7 separate regions of the Homo sapiens genome follow, and regions 2, 3, 4, 5, 6 and 7 are each linked to region 1. Evidence: promoter capture Hi-C in 16 types of primary human blood cells and fetal thymus (Javierre and others, 2016). All regions are on one chromosome and are shown on one strand. Each heading gives the region's core, a stretch centred on a gene start or on the middle of the fragment in contact. The rest is flanking DNA. Distances are from core to core; before and after follow the strand shown.

Region 1 (2,872 bases), core at 96-2,595:
ATTCCTTCTGGAGACTCTGGAGGAGGGCTCATTTCTTTGCTTTTTCTAGCGGCCTCCTGCATACCTAGGCATGTGGTCCCACTCTCCCTCTTCAAAGCATCTCTGATCTCTGTCTGACTCTGGCCATCCTGTCTACCCCTTATAAGGATGGTTTTGATGATAGGGGACCCACCTGCACAATCCAGGCTAGCTCCCCATCTCAATCGCTTTAATTTCATCATCTCTGCCAATTCTCTTTTGCTATATAAAGGTCACCATATACCCAGATTCTGGGGATTAGAAGGTAGACATCTGGGAGTCGGGGTGAGGGTGATTGGTCTGTCTACCATAATCATTAACATTTTTATCAAGACTAGCTCATTTAACTCATCTAATCCTCACTAAGACCCATTAGGTAAATAAAATTATATCCCCCTTTGGAAACTGAGGCACACGGAAGTTAAGTAACTTGCCCAAGGTCACACAAGCAGTAAGCCGTGAAGAGCGATTCCAACCCAGAAAGTCAGCTTTCGAGTTCACGTGTTCTTTGTTTTTTTTTTTTTTGATCTCGACTCACTGCAACCTCCACCTCCCAGGTTCAAGCGATTCTTCTGCCTCAGCCTCCTGAGTAGCTGGGAATACAGGCGCGCACCACCACGCTCGGCTAATTTTTTTTTTTTCTTGTATTTTCAGCAGAGACGGGGTTTCACCATGTTGGTCAGGCTGGTCTCAAACTCCTGACCTCCTGATCCACCCGCCTCAGCCTCCCAAAGTGCTGGGATTACAGGCGTGAGCCACCGCGCCCGGCCCAGGAGTTCACGTTCTTAAGAGCTGAAATATGTAAAGTGGCCCATAATAAGCACTACATTAATGTTAGCTATTATTCTTGTTATTTCTACTAAGATTAATATAATAATCCTTATCTCGTACGCTCTTTTAAGAACCAACTATTTAACGTGTGAAAAGTGCCAGGCAGCAGGTCCTGGAATTGCAGTTAAGATTCTTCCGGTCCTCCCAATCCACCTTTCCCGAGACGCTCGAGTTCACTTACTTAAGCGTCAGCCTTCCCCAAGATGGCGTTATCTTTGTCGCCAACCCCACATCCGCCCCACCCAATATGGCGTCCATCGCAATCAAAAGCTTTATTCCGCCCTTCTCAAGATGGCGCCCACACCAATCCTTGTTACCTTCCGCCCTCAAGATGACCTTAGCAGTTAGCGTCAACCTCCGCACTCTATGACCTTTCCAAAATGATGGTGAACGTAATACGCACCACACTCTGACCTTCTCAAGATGGCGCTGAGCTGACAAACTCGCGTCGCAAACTCACGCAAACTCAGTGTCGCTGTCGAAGACACTTCCGGTTGCGACGGAGGTAGGCTTACGAGGCCTGTGTCGGGTAGAAAGGGTCCTTCCTGGACCGGGACCCTCTGCCACGACCATGGACCGTAGGAAAAAGCCTTTGGACGTCACGGCCTCCTCGGTGAGTGAGGGTATGAGGTAACTCCACGGGCTCCGGGTTCACCGTGTCTCCATCAGACAAGAATGTCGACCTAGCTTGTTTCTTCACTCGGGGACCCAGAGACCTGACCTCTCCCCTCAAACAGGAACCCCCGAACTGGATTTTCTTCTCCGGCGGGGATCCGGTTCAGTTTTCTTACAGGACCCTGAATTGGGCTACTCTCCTCTGACATGCGCCCGGGCCAGAACCCTCGGACACGGATCTGAACCTGGTGTCCCGTGGGTTAGGAAACTCCGTGCCTCACCTCTGCCCTGCCCACAAGGACCTGCACCTCGTCAGCCTTCTCCCTTACAGTCAGGAGGAACCCTAGCTTCTTTTTGCTATGCAGACATATCCTCTTCCTGGTTTCTCCTCCATCCAGGGACCCACAAAGTCCTCCCAGAACTTTAGAGTGTGACATATTTCGCAGGACCCGAAAGTGTCCAGCGTGCCCTCCCTGGAACTAAACAGTTGTTAATGCAGGCATAGGGAGTTGTGAGGTCTGAAAGGATGTAAGCAGATTTATTACATCAGCTACTCTAGAAAGAAAACTTGTTCTAAGTACACATTTTGTGCCAGCACTTTATATGCACTATCTCATTGAATCCTCCCAATGGCTTTAGGAGGTAGGTGCTATTAATATCTCCGTTTTATGGATGATGAAATTGAGGCCTGGAAAGATGAAGTAGCTTTCCCCAGCTTACAGACAGAAATCTTAGTGATAGCCGGGCGCGGTGACTCACGCCTGTAATCCCAACACTTTGGGAGGCTGAGGCGGGCAGATCACCTGAGGTCGGGAGTTTGAGACCAGTCTGACCAACATGGAGAAACCCCGTCTCTACTAAAAATAAAAAAATTAGCCGGGCGTGGTGGTGCACGCCTGTAATCCCAGCTACTCGGGAAGCTGAGGCAGGAGAATCGCTTGAACCGGGGAGGCGGAGGTTGCGGTGAGCCGAGATCGCGCAATTGCACTCCAACCTGGGCAACAAGAGCGAAACTCCGTCTAAGGGGCGGGGGGCGGGGGGAAGAAATCTTAGTGATAGACCCTTTCTCACTCACTCTACTTGACTCCAAAGCTGCTGCCTTTTCATCATCAGAGCAAATTGCCCAACCTTTGATTTAATCTTGAATTTACTTCAGAGTATTAGGACACAAAGTGAGTAGGAAGGAAAACATATAGGTGTCCCAATATTTGAGTACTAGTTATTATTGGTAACTATTATTGGTTAAAATTGGTACCAGTTATTATTTTGTTTGAAGATCAGGAACCAGAAAGCTATAAATATTAAAGCCAACCTATACTGACAGGTTAGCAGTAATTGTAATAAGAATGCTATTTGAGAATTTACATTTTTTTGAGCATCTCTTAAAGTTAAAGGCAGTTGTAGACTA
Region 2 (2,872 bases), core at 126-2,625, 2.0 Mb before region 1:
ACTCAGAAGTCTCCTCGAGTGTAGAAGCTTCCTCAACTCCTCCCCAAGCAAAACTAACTGTTCTAAATCCCCATAACACTTGATAAGCCAATTCTTATCACACTGCATTGTTTTCACGCCTTAGGAGCGCAGGGAGGGCAGAGTCTCTCCACTCAGCCCACAGAGGACCAGGCAAGCAGAAACGCTCAATGAACGTGCCTTGAATTCATTTTCCACTTAGATTAAGTGACCCCCTAGAACCCGTTCACATCTCAAGGATACACTAAGTTCCATTCCTTCTTCCCACCACAGAATGAATACCAGGGGCACACCCAGAGCCCTAGAACGAGAACAATGAATGAACACGGCCGCCTCGCCTCTCACGACGTCCAAACCCCTCTCTCTTGGGCATCGACTCGCTCGCAGAGCCTCAGCAGCTGCAGAGCTGAAGCGTCCCGGCGGCTCTCGCGTCACACAAAAGACAGCCCTGGCTCTTCATTCCAAAGCGTCCTGAGGCCAATCCTCTATAAGTATCCCAAACCTTTCATTAATAACCCAGAGTCCTGATACCCAAGGCTAGTCCTGATACCCAAGAAGAGGCCCCTGTGCCTTTGTGGTAGGGCACTGGCCAGTTTCCTCCTCTCTTACCCGATTCCTCACGTCGTCTCTAAAAGGGTGTCACTTGACTGAAGTACCCTGAGAAAGGGTGCAAGCCCGGGTCCCACATTCGGCGGCCCAAGAGAAAAGGAATTGGCCCATCCAAGTGACAACAGATATGGGGCAGCTCTGGGCGGATTTTCCCACTGCCAAATATGAGGAATGCGCATGGCATAAGGGTGGCGTTGGCACGTTTCCGCCAAACACAAGGAAATTTGAGTGGGATGTGGGAACTCGGCTCGCCGGCCATGACACCGGACTCCGGGGCCCCCGCCCAACGCTACCCCAGGGTGACAACGGCCTGGCCCAAGCCCTCTGCCCGGCAGCCGCGGGGCCGCTCCATCAGCGCCACCCAGGCCCGGTCGCCCTGGAAGCCGATCCCTCAGCCCCGCCGCCCGGCTCCCCCGGCATCCACGACCCGGTCCTGCCACCTACCTGAGGGAGCCAGGCCGCCCCAACGTCCTGTCGTTCGGCGGCAGCTTCTCGCCCGCTCCTCCTCCCCGCGGCGGGTGAGGGAGCGGGAGGCGGTCACATTCGGCGCGTCCCCAGCCCAGGGGACGGAGCCCCGAGCAGCCCCCGCATCGTAGCAAACGCGCTCCGCGCCTCAGGGCACGCGCCCCAAAGCCCGGCCAGCTGACCCTTTTCGGGGCCCAAAAAAGGCAGCAGAAAGCCGTTCCCGCCTCACAATCGTTTTCCTCTTACTCCCGCCATCTAAGATGGCGGCCCAAGCGCCCGCGATTAAGACTCTCGGGCGGCCCAGACGAGCGAGCCCTCGACTCGGTGCTCGTCCTCCCGACCTGCGACGCCACCGGCTCTCCGATTCTGCGCGAGCCCTACTGGCAGTCGACTTCTAACTTGGCTCGGGCATCCATCGCTCTGGCCTGAACTCAGGCCCCGCCCCCGGGGCGTGGCCTAGCGATCTGGTGGCCGCCATTTCGAAGCTGAAGAGGTTAGGCGACGCTGACTTGCTTTCAGGAGAGGCACTCGGTAATCGAGAAGAACCGGCTTTCGGCCAGCCAGGAGTGGCCAGAGGCCTAGAAGGGGAGAGGAAGGCCTGCCTGCCCAGCATTGCAAGGCCCAGCGATCACCAGACGTGCCTCAGGACACAGGGCACAGTGTCCAACTTTGACGCGTCCTCTCCGGGCACTTTAATACCAAATCACGGCTCCGCCACTTGACAGCTATGTGGACAGTCCCTGAACCTTAAACGGTCTTTTCCTTGTGTGTAAATTCCGAGTTCATTTTTCCCCCATCACATTAGCAACAAGTTAAAAAAACTGATAATATCCGGTTTGGTCCAAGGTATATTGAAACCTGTTGTGTGCCCTCGCAGCGCTATCACAGTGGAACTTGGACATGTTAAAAGTATATATCCTTCCTCCCGGCAGTTTCACTTCTAGACACTAATTCTAGAGAAATAAGTATACACATACACAAAAAGCTATGTGTGAAGATATTTAATGCCATATTATTTGCATTCTGGAGAAACACTGGGGATGAAATGAAGATTAATAGGAAACTGGTTAAGAGAACGCTGCTACACATCCAATCTGGGTTGTCATCCATCCAAGAATGAACTAGATAGTTACTGAATTTAAAAAACAACAAAAAAAGGGCCCGGCGCTTTTTTTGGGATTACTCCTGTAATCCCAGCACTTTGGAAGGCCGAGGCAGGCGGATCACCTGAGGTCGGGAGTTCGAGACCAGCCTGACCAACATGGAGAAACCCCGTCTCTACTAAAAATACAAAAATTAGCCGGGCGTGGTGGCGGGCGCCTGTAATCCCAGCTACTCAGGAGGCTGAGACAGGAGAATCGCTTGAACCCGGGAGGCAGAGGTTGCAGTGAGCCCAGATCGCACCATTACACTCCAGCCTGGGCGACAGAGCGAGACTCCGTCTCGAAAAAATAAATAAATATAAAAAAATAAAAATACCAAATTAGCTGGGCATGGTGGTGCATGCCTGTCATCCCATCTACTCGGGAGGCTAAGGCAGGAGAATTGCTTGTACCCAGGAGGCGGAGATTGCGGTGAGCCGAAATCGCGTCATTGCACTCCAGCCTGGGCAACAAGAGCGAAACTCTTGTCTCAAAAAAAAAAAAAAAAAAGACATGGCTGGGCGTGGTGGCTCACGCCTGTAATCCCAGCACTTTGGGAGGCCGAGGCGGGCAGATCACTTGAGGTCATGAGTTTGAGACCAGCCTGGCCAACATGGTGAAACCTGTCTCTGCTAAAA
Region 3 (2,872 bases), core at 229-2,728, 1.8 Mb before region 1:
CAAGGCCTAGACTTCCAAGAAATAGGGACAGCCTTACTAGATCCTCTATGCTTTCCCCTATCAGGTCTTTCTCCCTAGGCTGGGAGCCAGGCTTTGCACTGCTGAGAAGTCCCTTTCTCTCTCCGCTTTCTCTCATGTAACAAAAGTAATTAAAATAATTCCTCCTCACAGTTGCAGGGCACCTCTTTTGCAAGGGCCATTGAGTTGCCATAATCCTGGGAAGGAGGCCGGGAGAGAATGGGGAGAGGGGCGGAGCCTGGCCCAGGTTGCCCGCGGAGTGCGATCGGCCTGATGCCCCCTCGTGCTCCCCAGGCTGGGTGTCCCGCTGGGCGCCTTCCACGCCAGCCTCCTGCACTGTCTGCTGCCACAGCTGAGCAGCCCGCGCCTGGCGGTGCGCAAGCGGGCGGTCGGAGCGCTTGGCCACCTGGCGGCCGCCTGCAGCACCGACCTCTTCGTCGAGCTCGCTGACCACCTACTGGACCGGCTGCCCGGCCCGCGGGTGCCCACCAGCCCGACTGCCATCCGCACCCTGATCCAATGTTTGGGCAGCGTCGGCCGCCAGGCCGGCCACCGCCTCGGTAAGGGGGCAGGGGGCGGGGCCTGGGCTGGCATGGTGGGCGGAGCTTAGGGTGAGCCAATGACTCGGTAAAGGGGCGGAGCTTGGGCCGCAGTGCAGCCAGGGCCTAAGGGTGGGCCGTCTGCCTTGGTAGGGAGGATGGGGCGGGGCCTGGGCTGATGTGGTGGGTGGGGCCTGGGGCGGGCGGCTGAAGCCCCTGAAACGCAGAGGTTGGGGCCGGATAGGGCTTGAGAGGCGCAGGGCGGGCCCTGAGCTCGACAAACCCCCAGGCCTGAGCCCCTGCTGAGTGCAGACGGTTCAGAGAAGGGGGTTGGTTCAATCACTTATGAGACGTGGAGGCTGGCTGGTAATTACAATTTTAAGTCATGCCACTAAACTGTTAGACTATGTTCTCTTCTCCCAGTTTGACAAAGATATCTTAGTAACAGCCCATGAGCCAAGTTTGAATTTTTAAGAAACAATTTAATGTGCATACAATAAACCGCACTATTTAAAGTGTGCAATTCAGTGTGTTTTGACCTTTGTGTATATCCGTGAAACCTTTCCATCACCCCCAAAAGCTTCCTTGTGTCCGTTTGCAGTCCAGCTCTCTGCCTTGTCCAGGAAGCCACTGATCTGCTTTCTGTCACTATAGATTAGTTTTTTAGAAATGGAAAGCTGCAATCAGGTTTGAATGTATCCTCAGACACCTTGGAGTTCTGACTATACCAAGACAGTTTGGATAGAACTGGCATATGGTCAGCCCCTCCCAACCCCTGGCTCTCTCACTGCAAGGGGCCTTGCAGGCACACGGCGGGGGGTGGGGGGGGGAACCCCAGCTGACATGGCCACACCCTGTCCCATTTCTCCCAAACAGCAGCCAGCCCTCAGCCATCCTTGGTTGCATGGACCTAGGAAAGAGGCCTGCGCAGGCTCGGACAAGGGGTCAGGATCCATTGGGCAGGAAACTCGGGTCCCCAGATACCCAGACAGAATGGAGTCTAGGAGTGTTGGGGGTCTCTAGGTCAGCATGTCTCTTCTTATGCTGTAGGGAAGGGTATGGCTGGAGAAGGGCTTGAGTGGAGTGCTCTAAAGCCTGGAGACCAGGCAGGAACCCCTCTTGCCTGGTCTATTAGGGCAGTACCTGCCTCCCTTTCTCCTATCCAAGGACTTAAACCTAGTGAAGGAAATTAGGCCAGGACATGAATAATGGTTTTGATAACAGATGCTATTTATCGAGTGCCTGCTCGTGTAGAACCTGGACTAAGCTTTTTTATTTATTTTTTTGAGACGGAGTCTCGCTCTGTTGCCCAGGCTGGAGTGCAATGGTGCAGTCTCGGCTCACCGCAACCTCCGCCTCCCGGATTCAAGTGATTCTCCTGTCTCAGCCTCCTGAGTAGCTGGCACTACAGGCGCACGCTACCATACCCAGCTAATTTTTGTATTTTTAGTAGAGACGGGGTTTAACTATGTTGGTTGGCCAGGTTGGTCTTGAACCCCTGACCTTGTGATCCCATGATCTGCCCGCCTCGGCCTCCCAAAGTGCTGGGATTACAGGGGTGAGCCACTGCACCCAACCTTGGACTAAGCTTTTTTAACTTCTTTTTTTTTTTTCTTTTTGAGACTGAGTCTCGTGTCTTGCTCTGTTTCCCAGGCTGGAGTGTAGTGGCACGATCTCTGCTCACTGTAACCTCCACCTCCCAGGTTCAAGCAATTCTGCCTCAGCCTCCCAAGTAGCTGGGATTACAGGGGCGCACTGCCACGTGCAGCTAATTTTTGTATTTTTAGTAGAGATGGAGTTTCACCATGTTGGCCAAGCTGGTCTCGAACTCCTGACCTCAGATGATCCATCTGCCTTGGCCTCCCAAAGTGCTGGGATTACAGGTGTGAGCCACCATGCCCGGCCTAAGCTGTTTATCTTTTTTTTTTTTTTTTTTTGGAGATAGAATCTCGCTCTGTCCCCCAGGCTGGAGTACGGTGACGCTATCTTGTCTCACTGCAACCTCCACCTCCCAGGTTCAAGCAATTCTCCTGCCTCAGCCTCCTGAATAGCTGGGACTACAGGTGTGTGCCACCGTGCCCGGCTAATTTTTTTTTTTTTTTTTTTTTTTTTGAGACGGAGTCTCGCTCTGTCGCCCAGGCCAGACTGCGGACTGCAGTGGCGCAATCTCGGCTCACTGCAAGCTCCGCTTCCCGGGTTCACGCCATTCTCCTGCCTCAGCCTCCTGAGTAGCTGGGACTACAGGCGCCCGCCACCGCGCCCGGCTAATTTTTTGTATTTTTAGTAGAGACGGGGTTTCACCTTGTTAGCCAGGA
Region 4 (2,872 bases), core at 266-2,765, 1.8 Mb before region 1:
TCCAACCCTGAACTTGCTGCCCTCTTTGAAAGCATCCAGAAGGATTCCGCTTCAGCCCCCAGCACAGACTCAATGGAGCTCAGCTAGTCCCCTCAGCACCAAGGTGGGCCCTCGCTTAAGAGAAAGGAGCCCACCCAAGTCCGAGGCCTCCCCATCCCACCATCGCAGGTCTCTACTTTTGCCCTTCCACCATCTCACTGGGGGCCCTGTCGCTCCTGGTCAGGGCTTACAGTGCCTTCTCCAGGGACCCAACTCAAAGGCCCCCAGCCCAAGCTGTGAGGCTGCCAACAGTTGGGCCCCTTCCTTAACTCAGGACAGTCATCCAAAGAAATAGGGTGAGGAAGTTTTCCAGTGACTTCACACTGTACCCCTCCATAGTCTGTCTGGTTCCTTCAGAGGGTGTCTCTGCCTCACAAACTAGTAGTATTTAGAAATAGGCTGTGCTGTCAGCTGTAAAAGATCAGGAGGCAGCAGACACCACTCTGGTTTCTTCACTGCATTCAGCAATGCCTGAAGTTAGTGCTCAGGCCGGGCATCTCAAAAGAAAAGATACTTGAGTTATTCACATTTTAAAATTCAAAACGGTTCATTTTTAAGTGGCAGTGATGAATCAGAAATTTGGAAGATGATACGGGTTTCTTTTTTCCAGGGAGGAGGAATGGGTTGGGTAGGGAACTGGACAGGCTTGGACCTCATGTTTCATTTCTAATTTCAAAATACTTATTAGCAAATTGGGCAACAATGGGCATCTTCCATGCCACCACCCAGGCATAACCAGTTGGTTTGTTTCCTTCTGAGGAAGGTTTCAAATGTGTCTAGTGTTCAGTATTGAGGACAAAGAAATACAAGTGGCAGGCCCAAGTATTTTCTGTGATATCCCAGGTTAATAAAGATTAGATTCTAAGTTACTTCTTTCCTCTGCACGACTCGTCTCCAATTGTTAATCGAATCGCCTGAACCCAGGAGGCAGAAGTTGCAGGGAGCCAAGATCAAGCCACTGCACTCCAGCCGGGGTGACAGAATGAGTCTCAAAAACAAAATCCCAAAAATGACCAGTTTGCATTATAAATATTTATGACTAGGTTTTGAACAGGAGACAATCTGTAAGATTCCTGTCTAGACTAGAAGTAGAAAAGCTTTATTATACCCAGCGCAGCATTTCTGCTAAGTTGACCAGGATGGTTACAGAAAAACATCCTGTAAGCATTTCTGTCTCATAAGTACCACATCCCATATCCCTCATGACCTATATACTACAGAAGATGCCTGTAATCCCAGTACTTTGGGAGGCTGAAGCAGGATTGCTTGAGCTCAGGAGTTCGGGAGCCTAGGCAACATGGCTAGACCACCTCTACAAAAAAACTTCAAAAACTACCCAGGTTTGGAGGTGTGCATCTGTAGTCCCAGCTACTTGGAAGGCTGAGGTGGGAAGATCACCTGAGCCTGGGGAGGTCAAGGCTGTAGTCAGTGTGCCACTGCACTCCCAGCCTGGGTGAGAGCAAGACCCCGTCTCCAAAAAAAATCAGGACCACGTGTCACTAAATTCTGAGTACCAGTCAAGAGGCTCAATTGTCACCAGTTAGGTCCCCGCCTTGGCAAACTGCTGTAACATTATACCTGAAGCAGCAGCTGGTGGGAGGGTTATAGGAGACTGAAAGTGCTTTTCCAGTTAACCGTGGTGGATTACCTGGAAGAGCAATTTGTACATCATCCTGTTCTTTTTGGACAGAAGTTACAGGATGCAATTTAGGCATCCCGTAAGAATCTGTGTAAGAAATTCATCTGGATATTTCCATGCATATTTTCTCAATTCTCACAAGCATCACATGGAATAACTTGTCACCTAACTTTACAAAAGCAAGGCTAAGAATGACTACTTGTGGCTTGGGAGCCACAAGCTTCTTCAAGTGTCTCAGAACCTACCTGGTGTGAGGGCCAAGTCTGTACCCCTCATACCCAGCCTCAACTGGAGATGACTAAGGCTAGTCTGTGCACTTGAGGCCACATTCCCCTGTTCAAGGACTGAGTGTCCTTTACAAATCCCCTCCAAATGGGAGATTCCAAAGGGGCTTAAGCAAAAGAACAATCTCTGTGGCAAACTAAGTTGGCCAAGAAGCTGAAGACTTAAAATCAAGGAAGGAAGATGCCAGATGGCAGTTTTTACATTTATTTAAACAGAAAACGTGCACATGAGCTGCCTACTCATTTTCTTCACTGCGCAGCCTGGCATTGGGGTTGGTGACTCTGATGGCCAGTTGGGCAGCTCTTTCCACGATGGCTTTGCGGTTCTTGGAGGAAACATTGTGAGCGATCTCGGCACAGTAAGATCTGCAAGAGAATCAAGTAGGTAAGGAGCAAGACAGCCCTCAACACACTTGGAAAATTCCATTGGAGAGGCAATGAGTCCCAGCACCAAGCTAAGAGAGGGCTGCTTGGTAAGTGGCTGTGGAATGACACCTACATGCCCCCAAATCCTGACTATGGTTCCCTGGTGGTGACAAGAATGCTTTCATTAAAAAGTACCCTCATTGTCCCCTCTCATCCTTATAGCAGCCTTGTAATCCAGGCATTACCTCCATTTTACAGATAAAGAAACCAAGGCCCACAGCAAGCAATGGACAGGGATCCGGGGCGAACCCAGGCCCACACTCCAGGTTCAAAGGTTCTCCCCCAGTCACAGGGTGCTTGACCTTGCCCATGAAGGTTCAGAACTCTTTGCAAAATGGTCAAGAGCAGAACCCAAGAGTCTGAATGGAGCCAAGAGCACCTGGTTTGACTGCTGAGGATACAAAGCAAGTTGAGAAGCAACAATGCTTAAAGTCACCCAGTCATAGCCATGCCTATTACCTGAGGACTTCAGATCCAGTTCTAA
Region 5 (2,872 bases), core at 154-2,653, 1.7 Mb before region 1:
GCGTGAACTATGGGCTACACCTGAGCGAGGCTTCTCAACCTCCAAGACCTCTGCCTCATGTTCTGAGACTGGGGGAGCAGCTGTTCATCACCAACCCAGACCACAGAAGGATCCAAGCAGGCTTCCCTGAAGCTGGAAGATTGAGATGAGATGCCCGGAGGGACTTCTAATGAGAAGGGATGTGGGACTGAGAAGTATGCAAGAGAGGTGGCCTGGACATGTCAACTGGAATGGTCCTAATGGAGGGGCAGAAACCCCTCCCCAGTTACTTTCAGCTCAGAGGGAGGCGGGAGGTGCAGCCAGGAGAGCACGCTAATGGTTTCTTGTTCCCCACTAGACTGCTGGTTCCATGAGGACAAAGACTCCATGTTTTGTTCACTGCTGTGTCTCTGGTGCCTAGAGCAGGGACTGGTACATAGCAGGCACTCAATAAACCACAGAGCTTTAGTACTGACAAGACTGAATGCTCAGCCTCGATTTGCTCTCCTGCAATATGAGGATGCTGGTACCACAAGGGTAAGAAGCAATTGTAATACCAGGTGGGACAGCTGATGGACTATGAGGGCCGCGGGTGTGTGTGGGATATGAATAACATGACCCCCATGTCCAGACTGCTGCCACTGATTCCAGACAGATGGTCTTGCAGCTGCAGCATGCCTGGCCTCCACCCCAGATGCAAGGAGCAATGGGGTCCTTGAGAAGCCCCCCAACCCCACTTGGAGGCTCAGGCTCAGCGCTCCAGGCCTCTGGGGTGAGGAAGGGGCAGAGGGAGACATATGCATGTTCTCAGTGCAACTGCTGGACATGCGCTGCACAATTTTTGAACTGAAAGATCAAACAGCTCCAGGTGGGCTTCCTCCAGAGGGGGCCTGACATAAGCCAAGTCAGCTTGTCAACAAATCCCCTTAGCCCCACCCCCCTGCTCCTCAGAAGGGCCTGCAGATAGCTCAGGGGGCAGCTGTGCTGGCCATCGCAGAGAGGAAATCAATATTCCCAGCACATACACACACACTCCCTTTCTCCCTTTCTCTCCATAAACACGGGCCCTTGGAAGCTCAGACAGCCGCCCACAGGCCCCTAAGTAGAAAAGGGTTGGCCCCTCTGACACACCAGACTCCATCCCTGACCACACCAGGTGCACACGCATCACCACACAAAGCCCCTCACATCCACACTCTGCCACAAACAGCAGCCACACACCCCAGTGCACCCCCAAGTGGCCCTGCCAGGGGCAGAGTACCCGACAGAAGCTGCTGACACACCTGGGACGCCTGTTTGTTCAGGGTCATCCACCCTCACACACACTTGGGGTCTTGCAGACAGGACAGACACATCAATCCAGACATAGGCCCAATGTCTGGAATAGACAGGCCTGCAAGAGGCCTTCCTGGCAGCTCCGGCCCTGCCTGCAGTTGGAAACAGGCACAGACCCGCTGGGCACCCTCCCACCAACTCTCCGCTCTCCCTCCTGCCCCTCACCTCACACCCACACCGAGTCCCACTGTTTCCCTCTCAAGCCCCCAAACTCAAACTCACCCCCACACCAACTTGCACTCCAACAGGCCCTCGATCACACACACACACTCCCATCCTGAGACCCTCCCAGGGCACACACAGCGCTCCTGTCCCAAGGGCGCGTCTCTCTCTCCCACGCACAAACTCGGGTCCTGTTTGCTCTTCTCTCACCCAAACCCACAGTCTGGCGGACGCACCCCGCCCCGCAGGCAGCTTTCTCTCGCACGCCGGGCGCCCGGTCCCGACGGTCACCCGCACTCCCGCACAGGCATCCCCACAGCCTGCGCCAGCCCACCGCTCAGCACCCGGGAAGGCCGCTCGCCCCGCGCCGCGCCCTCACCCGCTGTCAAGCTCTAGCTCCAGAAGGGACTGGGTCCTCTCCGAGTTGCAGTGCAGGCACCACATGGCGGCCGCAGTGGGAGCGGGCCGGGCCGGGAGCCGGGACCCAGGCCCAGCAGAGGCCGCCGACTCCCGCCAGCGAGCCGCCGGATCCCGGGGCCGACACCCGGCCACCCGGAGACCCGACCACCCGCCACGCGATCACGTCGGGGCTCCTGGTCCAGCGTCCGCCGGCTCCCGCGGCTCCGGCCCCAAGTCCGAGCCCCAGGCCAGCCAAGCCCGCCCCTCCGCCGCCGCCCGCTTGGCGCAGCGCGAGGCCGGGCCGGAGGAATGTGGCCCTGAAGTGGGCGGGGCAGGGCGGGGGCGGGGCCGGAGGGCGAGCTGGGGGCGGGGCCGGAGGGCGAGCTGGGGGCGGGGCTGCGCGCGGGGGCGAGACTGCACGGAGCGTGTGGGGAAGAGAGCACAGGAGGCGTGGCCACACGGCGCCGCGGAAGAAGCACAGGGGGCGGGGGGTCAGGGGCGGGGCGTCAGGGGCGGGGCTACGCGCAGGGGCGGGGCCGAGCCGAGGCGCGGGGTGCAGAGCGCAAGGGCGGAGTCCCAGACACTGCATCCAGGTCCCAGCGCGCGAAGCCTCTGTTCTGGAAGGAGGACTTTGCGCAGCCCCTCCAACACTGGCGCCTCCCGGGAGCCATGTCTTCCTCTCCAGCGTGTAACCACAACAAATGCACAGCGCCAAACCCCCAACCAGAGCCTACTCCGCTGATGCCTACTCAACATCTGCCTATCCCGATTTTGCCTTCAGTTTATAAAACCTGGCCTTTGCCTGCCTGGACCGAACCGTGTGGTTCTGGGGCTCTGATGCGCCCCAGAGAAGGGAATGGGCCCTATCCTGAGGTTGGTACCACCCTTTTGGCGGCTTTTTGGGGGAAGATCTAATGGAAAGTTGCTTCTTTCTCCCTAAGCCCACCCAGCCCCCTACCCTTTCTCCACCCAGAGACACCCTTCAAGCACCTATGAC
Region 6 (2,872 bases), core at 255-2,754, 1.6 Mb before region 1:
GCCGTAGGCAGCGACCCAACACTCCCTGCCATCCAGGTGGGCTGCGGGGCCCTGGTTCTCAACCCTAATGGGGCCTGGGGCTGGTCTAACGCGCAGGGGAGCTAAAGAACTTCCCCTTGCGGCTGTGGGGAAACACCTGGTGTTCCTGGGCCCAGGGCGAGCCTGTGTGCATTCCAGGCAGTGAGAAACGGGTCACAGAATACAGCTCTGAGAAACAGTGAAAACTCTGACGACAGCCCCCAAGACCCTCACCACGGCAGGCTGCCCTGACAGTCGCCAGCCCCTCACAGGTTTCTCAGGGCTGCTGAGGTCCCCTCCCCGGGCCAGGTGGGTGGTACTCACAGTCTCAAAGTGGAGGGGGCGGAGGTGTCCCTGGAACCCCAGTGCCTGGCCTGCCTCTGCGGCCCCGGGGGATGAGCTGTGGGTCCATCCCCACAGCAGGTCCTGACGTCTGACTTCCTCCCTGCTCAGTCGGCATCCAGGAAACCACACCCAGGGGAGAGGGTGCCAGGCACCCTGGGGCCCCCGCCCACCTGCCCTCCAAAAGGCCCCCAGGCACTGCTGAGGGGGCTCCTTCCAGGTCTGGCAAACCCAAATGGCTTCACTGGGCAGGCCCCAGTCAATAAATAATACACCCACCTCCCTGGACAGTCTCTGGTGCCTGATCGTGTTTCAGGGCCACTTAAGTTCCAGGCAGACTGCTTTGTTCAGAGTGCCGGGCCCCTTCTGGGTCTCTGGCCACATGGGCACTGCACTGTCACGGAGGGCCAGCTGGAGCCAGCAGCATAAAGTAGTGTGACAGGGGTCCCTGGAGAGAGGGTGCCCTACTTACTTAGCAGCTTGGGCCCAAAGGGGACCCAGGGGTGGTGCCAGGGTAGGGTGGCCAGTCTCGTCTCCCCATGGCCAGGCAGGGCCCCCCACATCCCCCACAGGGGTGCCATCTGGAGAGCCGCCACCAGCCCATCCTGACATTGCCAGTGTCCGGGCCCAGGCCCCTCCTCCAGGAAGCCTCCTCTCCGCCAGGAGTGCTCTGTCCCTGTCTGAATTCCCACTGCAACCGCCAGCCAGTCTGTCTGTCTCCTTCTTTGGGTCTCAATTGTCATCTCTCATCTAAACAGTGGCCGGCCGCCACATCTCAACCGGCCTTCCCTGCCCCCAACGCCCCACCACTCCCTCTCCACAGTCTCATTTCCTCACAGCAGCCCGGGTGACGGTTTTAAAACAGAAAGCACAGCAATGTTACCCAGCCGTGGCTCTCCCGCCCCAGTCAACTTTCAAGCCCTCTCCAGGATCTGGCCCTGCCACCACGGGGACTGCTCCTCCCGCCCTCTCGACTCCTGCCAGCCTCCTCCTCTGTGCTCCTCCTGCAGGTGCACACAGACCTCAGGGTCCTTACACCAGCTGCTCTCTCTGCCTGCTCTTCCCCAAGGTCCTCACAAACTCACTCCACCCTGTCACTCTCAACGCAAGGCCACCACTGCAGACGAGTCTTTGTTTTCTTTTCAAACAGTCTTATTAAGATATAATTCACACACCATACAACTCACCCATTTAAAATGTATAGTTCAATGATTTTATTAATAGTATATTCCCAGAGGGGTGCAACTGTCACCACTATCTATGTTTAGCATATTTTCATCACTCAAAAAGAACCCCTCCCCAGCCCTGGATCACGGCAAACCTACCTCCCGTCTCTATAGATTTGCCTGTTCTGGACATTTCCTAGAAACGGGACCATACGCTCTGTGGTCTTCCGTCTGGCTTCTTTCACTTAGCATGATGTCCTCAAGGTTCACCTGTGCTGTAACACGTGCCAGAACTTCATTTCTTTTTGTGGCTGAATAATATTCCACACTATGGACAGACCACATTGTGTTTATCTATTCATCCACTGACGGCCACTGGGAGAGGCCCTTCTTGACCTCCCCAGGCCATGTGGCTCCCTCTCCCCGATCACTCTGTCATCCCTCCCTGTTTTATTTTCTTGGCACCGATCTTTGCCTGAAGGCATCTTCATTTGTTTATTTTCTCTTTATCATTTCTCTCTCACCTGAACATCTATCTGCTCCAGGAGGCCTGAGTGTCCACCTCACTCACTGCTGTATCCCCAGGGTCTAGCCCGGGGCAGCAAACAATAGGTGCTCAGCAAACTACTTGCTGATCAGCGGAAGAAAGCCTCTTCCCATGTGTCAGAGTGGCTCATGCCCATGCCGCCTTGCTGCTGGGCTCTGAGCTCTCGGCGACAAGTGCTGCCCTGTGGTGCTTGCCAAGAAGAGCCTCACCCACAACTCCGGTGAGGAAACCAGTAACGCAAAGCCTTGGACTCAGGTCCTCCTCTGTGCTGTGGGACAGTGCTCCTCACAGGGTGGGCGCTAGCTGGCTGGATGTGGGAATGGATAGTTAGCACCTGGCACAGTGTCAGGCACAGAGTAGGTCTTCATCCCCTGAACGAAGACTCGATGCAGGGAGAGGGGGCGGCAGTCACTAGCAGAGATGGGAACCGAGGAGAGGGAGGTGAGGCTGGCAGGGCTGAGGCAATGGTGAGGCCCACGGGTGAAAGGGGAAAGCAGCCATAAGGGAATTTATGTGTGCTCCAGGCAGTGCCCAGAGCCAGAGAAGTGGCGGCTCTGCTCTGCTCTGCCCAGGACCTCCTGCCCATCCCAAACTCAGCTCTGGGCTCTTCCCGGAGATAGACAGCACGAGCCAGGGTGTGTCCAGAAGGCGTGGGTGGGGAGGAGGCTGGTGACCCCTTCCTCAGCCTCAGGGAGTCCTGGTCTCTGCAGGCTGTCCAGAGCTGGGGAGCAGATGGGTTGTGAGGCTCAGAGGACAGGGCCAGGCCACTTCAGTGTGTGGGTGGGTGGCAGCGAGCACC
Region 7 (2,872 bases), core at 162-2,661, 1.6 Mb after region 1:
CACTGCACTCCAGCCTGGGCGACAGAGCTAGACGCTGTCTCAAAAAAAAAAAAAAAAAAAAAAAAGAAGTAGGTCATAATTGTATAATGCAAACTATATTTGATGAGTGCTGTTGTATATCAGGCCAGAAGGAGTTGTTTATTGGCAATACCAAACCTCCACCTCTCTAGGTTGTTTGACAAGGAAGAGAAGGGGTCAATGTATTAGGATTGATTTTAGTAACACTGTTGCTTGCCAGGTACTTTGGTAGACATTTTATTTATTCCTCTCAGTAATCCAGTGAGGTGGCGTGGGTAATGTTAAAATGGCAAGAGGAGACTTGCTGAAGATTAGAAAGCAGGAAGGAGTCACACCTGAGCCCAGTTCCGCTGATTTCCGGTCAAATACTCTGTGTATACTACTTGTTTACCACTAAGGTGTCTTTGCCTGTTGGAGCAAGAGGAGCCCTTTTTCTTCCTCAGTGACACCTAAGATTCTAAATTGACAGATGTCATGATTGTTCTTTGAACTTACTTAATTTCAGTGCATTTATGCTTATTGAGGCATTCTTGGCTTTTCTCTGTCAGTGTCCTCTCACACCCTGCCTAATGTATCAGCAAGTTTTGGGGCTCTAATTCCAAAATATATGTCATGTTCATCTACTTCTGCCATCTCTGTAGCTGTTACCTTATTATAATCTTAGACCAGAGTCTTTTAACTGGGTTTCCTGCTTCCACTCCTGCCCCTCTCCCTCTGTTATCCTTCCCACAGCAACTTGAGCAGTCCTTTAAAAATATAAATTAGGTCTTGTCCTTCTCCTGATTGATTCAGACTTTTCAGTTGCTTCCCATTACCCTTAGGATAAAATTCTTACCCTTACTATAGACTGCTGGACTTCATCTCATTTCACTCTTACCAGCTTACTGCTCTCCAGTCACACTGGCCTTGGTTCCTTTAACATGCCGGGCTTATTTCTGTGTTGGACCTTTGCTCTTGCTAGTCCTTCTGCCAGAGTTGTCTGCCTTTAACATTTGCTTGGCCGCCTTTTCCTCATCATTCAGATCTCAGCCAAGGTGTCATCACTGGAGAGATGTCTTTCTTGATATTTCCCCCACCTACCCCATCACTCTTACTCCCTTTATCATACTCATCATAATCTATAATTATCTTGTTATTTGTTTACTACTATCTGTCTCTGGAACTGTAATAAAAGCTTCATGATGGCAAGGGCCTTGCGTCTGGTTCTTTATTATATCTCCAAGGCCTAAAATAGTGCCTGGCACCCCTGTAGTTGTTGAATGAACTGAGTATACCTGTTGAACTGAAACCATATAATTAATCTTAAATGTTAAATTTAATCTGTTGCTTTCAGAAGTTTGTTTTACTACATATTTAATGGGTGTCAGTTTTATTTAGCACTTATTATACTTTTCTGCATTTCAGAAATAAAGTTAATTAAGATTTTTTGGTAAGGGAAGGCCTGTGAGGATACAGACATTGATGGGATGGTCTACTTTATATGGTTTTAGAAATAACTTGATATATATTGATCTGCTGTGGTTGATTAAATGCTTACAGTATGGAACCGCCGGACATATTTCAAAAAATTAGTAGGTTTTAAATTTTTTATATTTTATTTAAAGGACTGGCATAAAGCTTTGGAAAGCACTTTAAACAGAATTTTATAAAAATGTCCTTTATTTACCAGTAGGTGGCACTCTTGGTCATGGTTACTTTCACAAAATAAAATCTTAGGATTTTAAAGAGAACTCCTTTTTTTTTTTTTTTTTTTTTTTTTTTTTTTTTGAGACTGAGTTTCGCTCTTGTTGCCCAGGCTGGAGTGTAATGGCATGATCTTGGCCCACTGCAACCTCCGCCTCCCAGGTTCAAGCGATTCTCTTGCCTCAGCCTCCTTAGTAACTGGGATTATAGGCGCCCGACACCACACCTAGCTAATTTTTTGTATTTTTAGTAGAGATGGGGTTTCACCATGTTGACCAGGCTGGTCTCAAACTCCTGACCTCAGGCGATCTACCCACCTCATCCTCCCAAAGTGCTGGGATTACAGATATGAGCCACTGTGCCCGGGAAGAACTACTTTTAAAATTAACATTTGTTTTCCAGTTCAGTTGAGAAGGGGACCATTCAAACAGCATAATCATTAAATGATGTATCCTATTGTGAGGACAACTTATTTTAGCAATAGTTGTCTAAAACATTGAACAGAACAGTATTTCCATATTTAACAATATAGTGGTTAAATTTTATCAGGGAACTTGGCCTTAAATGACATGTAACTGTGTCATTCTAGCCTTTGGTCTGCTGTTTCCTGGGGTGGATATCCTAAGTAGCAGGTGTTAAAGACAGGCAAGGAAGATGAACAAAATAAGCTGTAAGATAAATAATCAAAAAAGAAAAATGGAAGCATGGAGGAAAGAATGGATGGAGAGGGGGTAATTGAGAGTGGGCTTGTTGTGAGGTGATGCCTACTGATTTTAATGAGCCTTTCCTTTGGCAGCTAAGAGGTAATAGTGCTTTTGATCAGTTCCCCAAAACATTGTTATATGTTGTTTGTGCCATTGCAGGAACTTTGTGAGAATTTTAATGCATGGAAAAGCTGTCCATGTTCCAACTGCTGTACATCCAAAAGTCTCAGTGTAATAGCAGGACCAAAATATTCTGTCAATCAGCTGACCATATACTTAATGACTCCTAAAATCTCGTGGACTTCTAAGGTAAGTTTCAACTTCTTTCTTTCAGGGATTAAGGTAACATTATTGACTTAGAACATTTAATGGAGAAAAACTACGTTTAGTGGTCTTGAATGAGGTTGAAGAGGCCTTCTGCTTTTTTCATTTAGTAAAGAGAAAAATAGCAAGTAGCATGCTTATCC

The links. Contacts are between HindIII fragments. The CHiCAGO score rates a contact against its expected background, and 5 or more counts as called.
Region 2: the fragment with the promoter of RAF1 here is called in contact with the fragment with the promoter of CCDC174 in region 1 in 5 of 17 cell types (non-activated CD4 T cells, naive B cells, total CD4 T cells and 2 more); the score reaches 9.5 in non-activated CD4 T cells.
Region 3: a fragment that was not itself captured here is called in contact with the fragment with the promoter of CCDC174 in region 1 in 7 of 17 cell types (non-activated CD4 T cells, fetal thymus, naive CD4 T cells and 4 more); the score reaches 13.5 in non-activated CD4 T cells.
Region 4: a contact is called between a fragment that was not itself captured here and the fragment with the promoter of CCDC174 in region 1, in 1 of 17 cell types (naive CD4 T cells). The highest score is 5.5, in naive CD4 T cells.
Region 5: a contact is called between a fragment that was not itself captured here and the fragment with the promoter of CCDC174 in region 1, in 5 of 17 cell types (activated CD4 T cells, fetal thymus, naive CD4 T cells and 2 more). The highest score is 7.7, in activated CD4 T cells.
Region 6: a fragment that was not itself captured here is called in contact with the fragment with the promoter of CCDC174 in region 1 in 3 of 17 cell types (activated CD4 T cells, naive CD4 T cells and total CD8 T cells); the score reaches 6.0 in activated CD4 T cells.
Region 7: a contact is called between a fragment that was not itself captured here and the fragment with the promoter of CCDC174 in region 1, in 1 of 17 cell types (total B cells). The highest score is 5.5, in total B cells.

What each region holds. Positions count from the first base shown.
Region 1 is chr3:14,650,417-14,653,288 of GRCh38, forward strand. It overlaps CCDC174 (coiled-coil domain containing 174), which reads left to right and starts at 1,346. Exons shown (of 11, transcript NM_016474.5): 1 at 1,346-1,462. The coding sequence starts at 1,421. It overlaps LOC124909347 (a long non-coding RNA gene), which reads right to left and starts at 1,705. Exons shown (of 2, transcript XR_007095826.1): 1 at 1,253-1,705; 2 at 1-810. RefSeq lists enhancers at 887-1,545, 1,049-1,448, 1,589-1,658. The HindIII fragment of the contact is 1,793 bases long and covers 1,118-2,872 here.
Region 2 is chr3:12,662,742-12,665,613 of GRCh38, forward strand. It overlaps RAF1 (Raf-1 proto-oncogene, serine/threonine kinase), which reads right to left and starts at 1,376. Exons shown (of 17, transcript NM_002880.4): 1 at 1,072-1,376. RefSeq lists enhancers at 458-1,068, 1,069-1,680, 1,292-1,641, 1,682-1,751 and a silencer at 882-1,101. The HindIII fragment of the contact is 11,087 bases long and covers 26-2,872 here.
Region 3 is chr3:12,809,747-12,812,618 of GRCh38, forward strand. It overlaps CAND2 (cullin associated and neddylation dissociated 2 (putative)), which reads left to right. Exons shown (of 15, transcript NM_001162499.2): 5 at 313-578. Among named protein-coding and RNA genes, the nearest start is that of CAND2, 15 kb to the left of the region's middle. RefSeq lists a silencer at 341-790. The HindIII fragment of the contact is 687 bases long and covers 1,136-1,822 here.
Region 4 is chr3:12,833,896-12,836,767 of GRCh38, forward strand. It overlaps CAND2 (cullin associated and neddylation dissociated 2 (putative)), which reads left to right. Exons shown (of 15, transcript NM_001162499.2): 15 at 1-908. The coding sequence ends at 87. RPL32 (ribosomal protein L32) reads right to left here. Exons shown (of 4, transcript NM_000994.4): 4 at 590-2,328. The coding sequence ends at 2,199. Among named protein-coding and RNA genes, the nearest start is that of SNORA7A, 5.1 kb to the right of the region's middle. The HindIII fragment of the contact is 762 bases long and covers 1,135-1,896 here.
Region 5 is chr3:12,965,532-12,968,403 of GRCh38, forward strand. All of the region lies in intron 1 of IQSEC1 (IQ motif and Sec7 domain ArfGEF 1), which reads right to left. Among named protein-coding and RNA genes, the nearest start is that of LINC02022, 82 kb to the left of the region's middle. RefSeq lists silencers at 1,923-1,972, 2,083-2,502 and an enhancer at 2,653-2,732. The HindIII fragment of the contact is 2,939 bases long and covers 1-2,872 here.
Region 6 is chr3:13,015,236-13,018,107 of GRCh38, forward strand. The region is part of intron 1 of IQSEC1 (IQ motif and Sec7 domain ArfGEF 1); the gene reads right to left. Among named protein-coding and RNA genes, the nearest start is that of IQSEC1, 57 kb to the right of the region's middle. RefSeq lists enhancers at 1-675, 676-1,443, 729-828, 1,449-1,558, 2,020-2,819 and 2 more. The HindIII fragment of the contact is 4,132 bases long and covers 1-2,872 here.
Region 7 is chr3:16,266,562-16,269,433 of GRCh38, forward strand. OXNAD1 (oxidoreductase NAD binding domain containing 1) reads left to right here. Exons shown (of 9, transcript NM_138381.5): 2 at 2,565-2,714. Among named protein-coding and RNA genes, the nearest start is that of OXNAD1, 2.8 kb to the left of the region's middle. The HindIII fragment of the contact is 443 bases long and covers 1,191-1,633 here.